2 separate regions of the Homo sapiens genome follow, and region 2 is linked to region 1. The links are contacts of gene promoters, found by promoter capture Hi-C in human tissues and cell types (Jung and others, 2019). All regions are on one chromosome and are shown on one strand. Each heading gives the region's core, a stretch centred on a gene start or on the middle of the fragment in contact. The rest is flanking DNA. Distances are from core to core; before and after follow the strand shown. Region 1 holds the start of PNLDC1 (PARN like ribonuclease domain containing exonuclease 1). Region 2 has its middle 38 kb from the start of MAS1.

Region 1 (5,278 bases), core at 1,345-3,844:
GGCTTATGCCTGTAATCCCAACACTTTGGGAGACCTAGGCAGGTGGATCACTTGAGGTCAGGAATTCGAGACCAGCCTGACCAACATGGTGAAACCCTGTCTCTACTAAAAATACAAAAATTAGCTAGGTGTGGTGGCGCGCACCTGTAATCCCAGCTACTCAGGAGGCTGAGGCAGGAGAATTGCTTGGGCCTGGGAGGCAAGGGTGTTGCAGGGAGCCAAGATCGTGCCCCTGCACTCCAGCCTGGGCAACAGAGCAAGACTCTGTCCCCCTTCCCCCCAAACAAATTTGGGTACAACAATGGAAACATAACTACAACTGTTTCCTATACTTCTCAAAGAGGTCTTATAATTAAAAACAAACAAACGAACAAAAAAAAAACCATAACAGAAAAGTAGCAAAGGATCAGGATAGAGAGGAAAACACACACACGTTCAGCATCATTCATAGTAAAAGCAGGGGCTGGGCGTGGCAGCACTCCCAGCTACTTCAGAAGCTGAGACTGGAGGATCTCCAGAGCCCAAAAGTTTGAGCCCAGCCTGGGCAACACAGCAAAAACCCAATGGTGCGGGAGAGGGCACAGACAAACCCAGAAAAGTAAAATCTGGCCCAGGGTCTGTTTCTGTAAATACAATAACATTTTACTGGAATGGAGCCATGCTCATTTGTTCATGTATTCTCTACAGCTAATTTCACATTACAAAAGCAGGATTGAGTAGCTGTAAAAGAAACAGCATTACGCAACCGTTAACAGCTCTGTCTTGACCAGCCTGGCCAACATGGTGAAACCCCATCGCTACTAAAAATACAAAAATTAGCCAGGCCTGGTGGCAATTGCCTGTAATCCCAGCTGCTCTGGAGGCTGAGGCAGGAGAATCACCCGAACCTGGGTGGTGGAGGTTGCGGTGAGCCCACATCGCGCTACTGCACTCCAGCCTGGGCAACAGAGCGAGACTCCATCTCAGAAAATAAACTAATAACTAAATCAACAAATAGATCTGTATGAACCGATACAGAAAGATCTCCAAATCCCATCAAGGAAAAAAAAAAAGTTTCTGAAACTGAGATGACCTTAAAAAAAATTATTTTTGTGTGTAAATTTTCTTAAGAAAAAAAAATCACAGGCCAGGTGTGGTTGCTCACGCTTATAATTCCATCACTTTGAGAGGCAGAGGCAGAAAGATTGCTCGAGCCCAGGAAGTCAAGAACAGCCTGGCCAACATGACGAAAACCCATCTGAACAAAAAATTTAAAAATTAGCTAGGTGTGGTGGTGAGCCTGTAGTCCCAGTTTACTCAGGAGGCTGACGTGCTAGTATCACTTGAGCCCAGGAAGTCTAGGCTGCAGTGAGCTAAGACTATGCTACTGCACTCCAGTCTTGGTGACAGAGCAAGACCCTGTCTCAAAAAATAAAATAAAAATCGCACACACACAGTTTTACTTGAAAGAGTAACAGTGAGTGTTCCTTAATACTGACTTATTTAAGCACGGAAACAATGCTGCTAAATTTGGTTTGCTCCGAAGTGTTGATTTCCATATGTATACAATGGCCCAACACAAAACAAGCATACAAAACGATACTCAATATCCTTGAAAAATCTCAGAGCTGTTTTTACAGTAGGAAATCCAAGGACAATAAAAATACCTTCTTGAAAAACTCTAACAGCTGATATTAAACTCACCAATCTGACAGACTGTAAATTGCTGAACACTCTGACGGGTCTTTAGATACCACTCCGATGGCAAATCAAAAAGACTGTGAACAAACAGGCATCTCATTCCACGAGCAATGACATCCCATCCCGGCACTATGGCCTCCGCGGCAGGACCACCACTCGCAACCGGGGAGGATTTTTTCCTTGTTACAACAACTAGGGAGCACTACCATCATTTAGTGGACAGAAAAAAGCAAGGTCCTCCAACACGTAGGAGCAAGCCACACAAAACGTCCTGCCCCCCAAATGCCAACAGGCTGCTGGCCAGAAACAGTGCTGGTCTGGCCAGGCTCTTATACAGAGGGGACACAGCTTTAGTTTTACCTGATCTGCTGGGGCCCAGACAGGTTAGAACGAAGGCCCGTGAACTCTATGTCCAGACCTGCCAGGAAGGCAAAAAATAGCAGTCCTCGGGTGCAGAACATCGCCAGCACTCCTCACACTGTAGATCTGCAGGCGGCCAAGGCACCCGCGCTCACCTCTGCGCTCAAGAAGCCAAGTGAGGTCAGGAAGGGAAAATGGAGGAACCAAGGCAAGGAGCAGCCAGGCACCTGGGCGCACGGGGCTCTGGCCAACAAGGGACGTGGGGCTCGGAGTGTACTTGCTGCTCAAAGTCCCACCGCCCCGGGGCTGGAGAAGGAAGCCCCCCTGTCCTTCCCGAGGCCCTCTCTGAGGCCCTGTGGCCTGGCAACCGTCCCGCCACCCCCTCCTCAAGCTCGCCCGGGGCAAGGGGCTCTGTCCGGCACAGCCGCGAATCCCAGGCTCTTCACCCACGAAGTCGGCCTCCTGGACGAGCTCCTGCAGCAGAGGGAGGCTCTCCTCGAACTCGTCGGCGCCCACGTCCATGGCCGTGCAGCTCCGCGGAGTCGCCCAGCGCTATCACGTGCTGCCCACGTGCTGCCCACGCGCTTCCGTCGCGCCGCCGGGTCTTAAAGGGCGCACACATGGAAACCAGGCAGCTGCCTCCGCCCCACGTGCCCAGCTTCCCCGTGTGCTGCTGGCGTCGCCCACACCTGCCTGCGGGTGTTTTAATTGTACGATTTGCTACAGAGGTTTGATTGCAATTGCAATCAAAGCCTGTTTACCTGGCTCCTCAGCAATTTCTTTGCAGCCCTTAACGTGAGAATGTCATTTACATGGACTTAGAATGTTAAGAGGCGTGGCAGGAGACGAAGACAGAGTCCAGAAAGGGTGAAATCAGAAAAGCGGAGCAGGAACAACACCGGACGCAACTGCAATAAGCAGATCCTTTGCTGCGGCTCACGGTCTTCTAAATCACCTCTTCCCAACTTCTCCATCACTGCCAGTATGTCTGTCCCCATTCCCTCTCCCACGCCCCTGGACATCTTTTTCCTCATTCTGCTGTCCACCTTACCACTGTCTTCACACCTGCAATCAAACTTTGCAAAGCCTCAAGAACTGCCCATTAAATTGAAGGAATCCTTGGTCCCCAGGGATTATCTCGTGCACTCACTCCTTGCGGAAATCCCTACCTACATCATCACATACATGTGAGCTTAATTTTTACTTTTGTTACTGTTTCCAGTGCAACTAGTCCATGGTCTTCCTTACAGTGTCCTCCCTTGAATTCTAGGCTTCTACTTGAACAGCGTTTTGGAACTATGGTCCTCAAAGTGAGGTGCTCAAATCAATCTTTAAGGTTAGCGGAGAAAACATTACCGTTATACTTTATTTTTTCCTTTTGAGACAGTCTCACTCTGTCACCCAGGCTGGAGTGCAGTGGTGCCATCTCGGCTCTCTGCAATCTCCACCTCCTGAGTTCAAGCGATTCTCCCGCCTCAGCCTCTGAACAGCTGGGATTACAGGCATGCACCACCACGCCCAACTCATTTTTGTTTTTAGTAGAGATAGGGTTAAACCGTATTGGCCAGGCTGGTCTCGAATTCCTGGCCTCAAGTGATCCACCTGCTTCAGCCTCCTAAAGTGGTGGGATTAGAGGTGTGAGGCACTGCATCCGATCTTCAATTATACTTTTAAATGCCTCTCCGGGACATTAATTAAGCAAAAGGGGACTATTAAGCCATTTGATTCTGAAGACCTCTCAGAACAAATCATACTTCATACAGATGTGTTCCATTTAAAATAACACATTGAATACTCAAATTGGCAGAAGTAACATATTTCACTTCTAAACAAACATTTAATTGGGGTATACATTAAAAAAACTGGAAAACAATGCTCTAGAAGCCACCTTAACTGCCTACAGGTTTTTTCTCACATTTATCAAATAGCCAAAAATTAACACCTTAATCAGCTCCTTTCAGAGAACTGCCATGATTCCCATCTACCCAAGCTCAAATTTTAGATTAACTTGCATGCATTTCAAGTTTCATCTCCTATCTAATAAAATGTTCACTTCATGGCAAATTGAGCGCCCACTAACCCCAACCATTTCCACCTCTGCTTTCAGCTCCTGATGCCACCTCCTTCCTCTTTCAAATTTGTTTCTCTTACTGTTGGGAACCAAGAGTCCAAGTGAGGTTGGCATTTGGTCCTTTCATTTTCACATACTGACTGTTCTATAGTATTAGATTGATACTGACATTTCCTATTTTAAAAAACAACCCACACTCCGAGCAGCAAACAACTGTCATTCACTGAGATCACTCGCCATGAACTAGACACAGTAATAAGTGCTTTACATCAACCTCATATGTGCTCCACTGCCACAGTGAGCTCAGACAATGTCATATAACCAGAAAATAAGAGTTCATAATATGCCTTTATTTTGTAATTTATAAACAACTTCTGACTTGCCCTTTGAAAGTTAATTATAATTGATGACTGCTTTTCTTAGATGCTTCTGAAGCCCAAGAGAGGGGCAGAACGTAGTTCTTGATTTAAAAAAACAGAAAGGGGAGGAGGATGACCTTAACTACAAATAATATTCCACTGCAACATTATTGCTGTAAAACTTCCAAGCTGGCTGTTCTTCCAGATGCTCTCTTTTGATGGCTGTAGTGGCTGACAGATTTATATTTACATGTTCAAAACAATTAATGCTTCCATTTATTCATAGATTCTCTGAGGTTCCCGTAGAACCACACCACCTTCTGTCATGGCACTTTGTAGTCGTTTCATCTGGTTTTGAAAATCAGAAAAAAAAGGAAAAGATTAAGTCAGCAGCACGAGTAGGCTGAAAATACTTTCACCTTCCAAAAGACAGAAATAAATTGATTTGTTCTTGCTAACTTCCCAGCCTACAACGGTTTTTCAGAAAGTGATCTTAATAATGATGTAAGTAAAAAGGAAATGTAGAGATGTCAAGGTTCAGCAGCATTTCAAAATATTATATGGACAAGATGTCAATATATGAACAGGAAATACAGTGGCTGACATCATGGACTACAGAATCAGTCACCCTGGGTTTGAAATCCACCATACACTGACTCTGGGCAAGTAAGCCTCAGTTTATTTCTGTATAGAATGAGAGTACTAGTCCCTACCCTATGGACTGATGTGAGGATTAAATGAAGTAACACTGTTGAGTACTCACCAAAGGGTCTGACACATGGAAAGTATTTGGTAAGTAAAAACTGTT
Region 2 (5,278 bases), core at 2,017-4,516, 130 kb before region 1:
GTGGACTTACTTTGCCCCCTGAGCTTGTGCTTATCTTTTCCAGCTTAGTTCATTTATTCACTAAACCTTGAGCTAGATGTCAGGTGCTAGTCTAGATTGGAGGATATGATACTAACAAGATGGGCATAATCCCTGTCCTGGGACTTCAGTCAACCTTGACTTTTTTTTCAGTCTTTCACTTTTCTAATAGATTCCAGCCTCTGGCTCCACCCCTGCTGCTGTGCAACCCACTGTGTTGTTCTTGTCTTTTTATTATATATAAAATATACATAACATAAAGTATACATAACATAAAATGTACCATCTTAACTATTTTTAATGTACCATTCAGTGGCGTTAAGGACATTCACGTTGTTGTAAAACTGTCTTCATCATCCATCTCCAGAACTCTTTTTCATCTTGAAAAAATGAAACTCAGTAATGATTAAACTCTCACTCCCCACTTCCTCCTCCCTCCAGCCTCTGGCAACCAGCATTCTACTTTCTGTCTCTATGCATTTGAGTACTCCAGGGACCTCATATAAGTGGAGGCATACAGCATTTGTCCTGTTATGACTGGCATATTTCACTTTGCATATTGTCCTCAAGGTTCATCCATGTCATAGCGTGTGTCAGAACTTCCTTTCTAAGGCTGAATAATATTCCATTGTATATTTCACATTTTGCTGATCCATTCACTCGTTGACACGTGTTTGGTTTGTTTGCACCTTTTGGCTACTGTGAATAATGCTGTTATGAACATTGATGTATAAGTATGTGTACAAGTCCGTGCTTTCAGCTCTTTTGGGTATATGCCTATGAGTAAAACTGGTTGTTCATATGGTAATTCTATGTTTAACTTTTTGAGAAACCACTCCATGTGTTCACAGCAACCATACCGTTTTACATTCCCACCAGCAACTGGTATCTATGAGGGTTCCGATTTCTCCACATCCATGCCAACATTTGTTATTTTTCTTCTTTAATAACAGCCACAGGTGTGAAGTGGCCCACTGTGGGCTCTGGCATAAATTTAGCCTGAACACATCAAGTTTCTGCACAGTGTCCTTATTGAGACAGTGCCTCAGTTGTCACCCTTGTAGCCTTTTTTCAGCCCAGGCTTTCTCTCCTTTTCCAAACCAGTTTGTTTTTATTGGCTTTTGGAAGTTTCACCAGTTCTCAGAGAGAAGGTTTGTATTCTTTTGATAGAATGAGCTTAATGAAATGTCATAAGATCAGAGATGCAGAAAGAAACCAAGAAAGAGCTTTTTACTTTGATGTGTAGGAGTGTGAACACTGATGGGGCAGGAGCCCTTTCCAGTCTCATCTGGAGGCACAGCAGCAGGGGTGGCCTGGGCCCCAGTAGCAACTGCAGCATTGGCTACCAGTGGGCCAGTTGGGTACCAACCTGAATGTCCAATAACTGGACAAACATACTATGACCATAGAGTGTAATTTCATGCTAGCATTAAATATGCTTCAAAAACATATTTAATGACACAGGAAAGGCATATGACTTAACTTAGGTGCAAAAACCTGAATACAAAGCAGTAATGATGTTCAATATTATAAACATGCCCTTTAAAAGACTAAGAAAAAGTACATCAAAGTGTTAGCACTTATCTATGATATAGGTCACTTTTAAGTCTCTATTTTCCTGTTCCCAGATGATTTATGATAAGCATTTCACATATTTTAATCAGAAAACAAGAAAAACATTTTTAAGCAAACACACCAGTGGCTGTAGTGGGTGCACTAAACTGGCTGCTAGCCAGGGAAAGCACGTGGAACCGCCTGGAACTCTGCCAGGGAAAATCCAGAACGGGGATGGTGGCCGAGAGGATTCAGCTATTTTTATAACTGCTGCCACCGTTACCTGAGCCCTCGCTTCCCTCTCCAGCCTGGTGTGGTGTAGACAAGCAAGGGTGACAAAGAGTTTACAGCAAACATACAACCGCAAGCTCATTGCCACCTCGTAATAGAAAGAACCCCAGAATTAGGGAAAGCACCATTAGCTACTGAGATGTTTACTGATGAAAGACTCTCCTCTTTTTCCTCCATAGCAGTTATATAAATGAGCCAGACGTGGCCTCGTGTGTTGGCCTACAATGTTGTTTAGGCCTTCACAGCAGGCTAGACCACTAGCTCAAAGCCCACTGGCACCAAACTCAAATTCTTCCACATTGATTGCTTTAAATATAGTCCAGAGAAATCTATTTTTGGCAATTTGGAGCCTACCTACTTTACATAGCCCACAAAACTGTGCCCAACATCTGCTAAGCCACAGGTAAGATGAACCTTGTTCCTATGAACTACGCTGTATTAGTCTTTATATTAACATAATGTCATATATGTACATACATGATAGAATGTATATACAGTCATGTGTCACTTAACTACAGGGCTATGTCATTAGGCGATTTTGTCATTATGCAAACATCAGAGTGAAGGGTATTTTAAAAGTTATTTAAGTGGTACACCTGTACAGGGCACTTACCACGAATGAAGCCTGCAGGACTAGAAGTTGCTCTGATGTCAGTGAGTGAGTGGTGAGTGAATGTGAAGGCCTAGGACTGTACCGCACACTATGATAGACTTTATGAGCACTGTACACTTAGGGAACACTACATTTATTTCTTCAATAATAAATTAACCTTACTTTACTGTAACTTATTCACTTAATAAACTTTTTAATTTTTTTGTAACTTTTTGGCTCTCCTGTAATAATATTCAGCTTAAAACACAAACATACTGTACAGCTATACAAAATACTTTCTTTATATCCCTATTCTATAAGCTTTTTTCTATTAAAATTTTTTTTTCACTTTTTATTAAAGACTAAGACACAGACACACACATTAGCCTAGGCCCATGTAGGTTCAGGATCATCCATATCACTGTCTTCCAACTCCACATCTTGTCCCACTGGGAGGTCCTCAGGGGCAATAACATACATGGAGCTGTCGTCTCCTATGGTCACAATGCCTTCTTCTGGATGCCTCCTGAAGGGCCTGCCTGAGGCTGTGTTATAGTTAATTTTTTAATAAATAGGTGCACACTCTAAAATAACAATAAAAAGTATAGTATGGTAAATACATAAACCAGTAACATAGTTGCTTATTATCATTATCAAGTATTGTGTACTCTACATAACTGTATATGCTATACTATTATATGATTGCAGCTCAGTAGGCTTGTACACACAAGCAGCACCACAAACACATGAATCAAGTGTTGCATTACAACATTACAGAAGCAATGATGTCACCAAGCAATAGCGATTTTTCAGCTCCATTATAATCTTAAGAAATCACCATCATATATGAGGTCCATCATTGACCAAAATGTCATTATGCAGTGGATAACTGCACATATTCTAATATATTATATACACAGGTATCTATACATATATACACACACTATATATATTCTGTATGTGTACTCACACAATATATGTTATATAACATATATTTATATATATTTATATATGTTATATATATAATATTTATATATGTTATATATATAATATTTATATATGTTATATATATATAATATTTATATATGTTATATATATAATATTTATATATGTTATATATATAATATTTATATATGTTATATATATAATATTTATATATGTTATATATATAATATTTATATATGTTATATATATAATATTTATATGTTATATATAATATATAATATTTATATGTTATATATAATATATAATATTTATATGTTATATATAATATATAATATTTATATGTTATATATAATATATAATATTTATAAGTTATATATAATATATAATATTTATATATGTTATATATAATATATAATATTTATATATGTTATATAATATATAATATTTATATATGTTATATAATATATATTTATATATGTTACATATAATATATTTTATATATGTTACATATAATATATATTTATATATGTTACATATAATATATATTTATATATGTTACATATAATATATATTTATATATGTTACATATAATATATATTTATATATGTTACATATAATATATATTTATATATGTTACATATAATATATATTTATATATGTTACATATAATATATATTTATATATGTTACATATAATATATATTTATATATGTTACATATAATATATATTTATATATGTTATATATAATATATATTTATATATGTTATATATAATATATATTTATATATGTTATATATAATATATATTTATATATGTTATATATAATATATATTTATATATGTTATATATAATATATATTTATATATGTTATATATAATAATATAACATACAACATATATAAATATATGTTATAATTTATATTATAAATTATATAACATATATAACACATATAAATATATTTTTTTTAAGAGACAGAGTCTCGCTCTGTCACCCAGGCTAGTGTGCAGTGGCATGATCTTGGCTCACTGCAACCTCCACCTCCTGGGTTCAAGCAATTCTCCTGCCTCAGCCTCCCGAGTAGCTGGGATTACAGATACACACCACCACACCTGGCTAATTTTTGTATTTTTAGTAGAGATGGCATTTCACCATGTTGGCCAGGCTGGTCTTGAACTCCTGACCTCAAATGATCCACCCACCTCGGCCTCCCAAAGTGCTGGGATTACAGGCATGAGCCACCATGCCCAGCAAATGTGTTCTCTCTCTATGTATATACACACACACAGAGGGAGAGAGATTTATAAGGAATTGCCTCATGCAATTACAGAGGATGAGAGGTCCCAGGACCTGTAGTTGGCAAGCTGGAGATCCAGGAGAGCCCATGGTGTAAGTTTCAGTCCAGGTCTAAAGGCAAGAGAAGACCCCTGTCCTGGCGCAAAGATGGTCAGGCCGAGCCAGTGAATTCTCCCTTACTCAGCCTTTTTTGTTCTGCTCAGACCTCCAGCAGATTGGATGAGATCCATCCACGCTGGGGAAGGCAGTTTGCTTGACTTGGTCTTACAATTCAAATATTGATCTCATCCAGAAATGCCTTCACAGATAAAACAGAATAACATTTAACCACATTTCTGAGCATATCAATACCTAGTCAAGCTGATGTGAAATTAACCATCACAGATCTCAAACTACTTTGGCCCTTTGGAAGTCTCTGACCCAGACATTCCCCACCTTGTTGCTGAGTGACGTCACCTAGACACATAAGGCCCTTCTTTGACTCTCTCTGGCCCTGGAGTTCCCTTGCCCTCTTCTCCTTCTGGGAGGGTCTCCTGCTGCGAGGGAGCCCCCTCTTCTCAGGCAGCCCCACTCAAGCATCACCCA

The links. The method cuts DNA at HindIII sites, captures the fragments that hold promoters and counts their contacts. A contact is called where the count stands out against the background at its distance.
Region 2: a fragment that was not itself captured here is called in contact with the fragment with the promoter of PNLDC1 in region 1 in 1 of the 25 tissues and cell types used here (aorta).

Annotation. Positions count from the first base shown.
Region 1 is chr6:159,797,592-159,802,869 of GRCh38, reverse strand. It overlaps PNLDC1 (PARN like ribonuclease domain containing exonuclease 1), which reads right to left and starts at 2,594. Exons shown (of 19, transcript NM_001271862.2): 1 at 2,487-2,594; 2 at 2,041-2,098; 3 at 1,684-1,757. The coding sequence starts at 2,562. MRPL18 (mitochondrial ribosomal protein L18) reads right to left here. Exons shown (of 4, transcript NM_014161.5): 4 at 4,441-4,818. The coding sequence ends at 4,747. The HindIII fragment of the contact is 11,703 bases long and covers 1-5,278 here.
Region 2 is chr6:159,926,597-159,931,874 of GRCh38, reverse strand. No RefSeq gene overlaps it. Among named protein-coding and RNA genes, the nearest start is that of MAS1, 38 kb to the right of the region's middle. RefSeq lists enhancers at 1-31, 292-371. The HindIII fragment of the contact is 6,602 bases long and covers 1-5,278 here.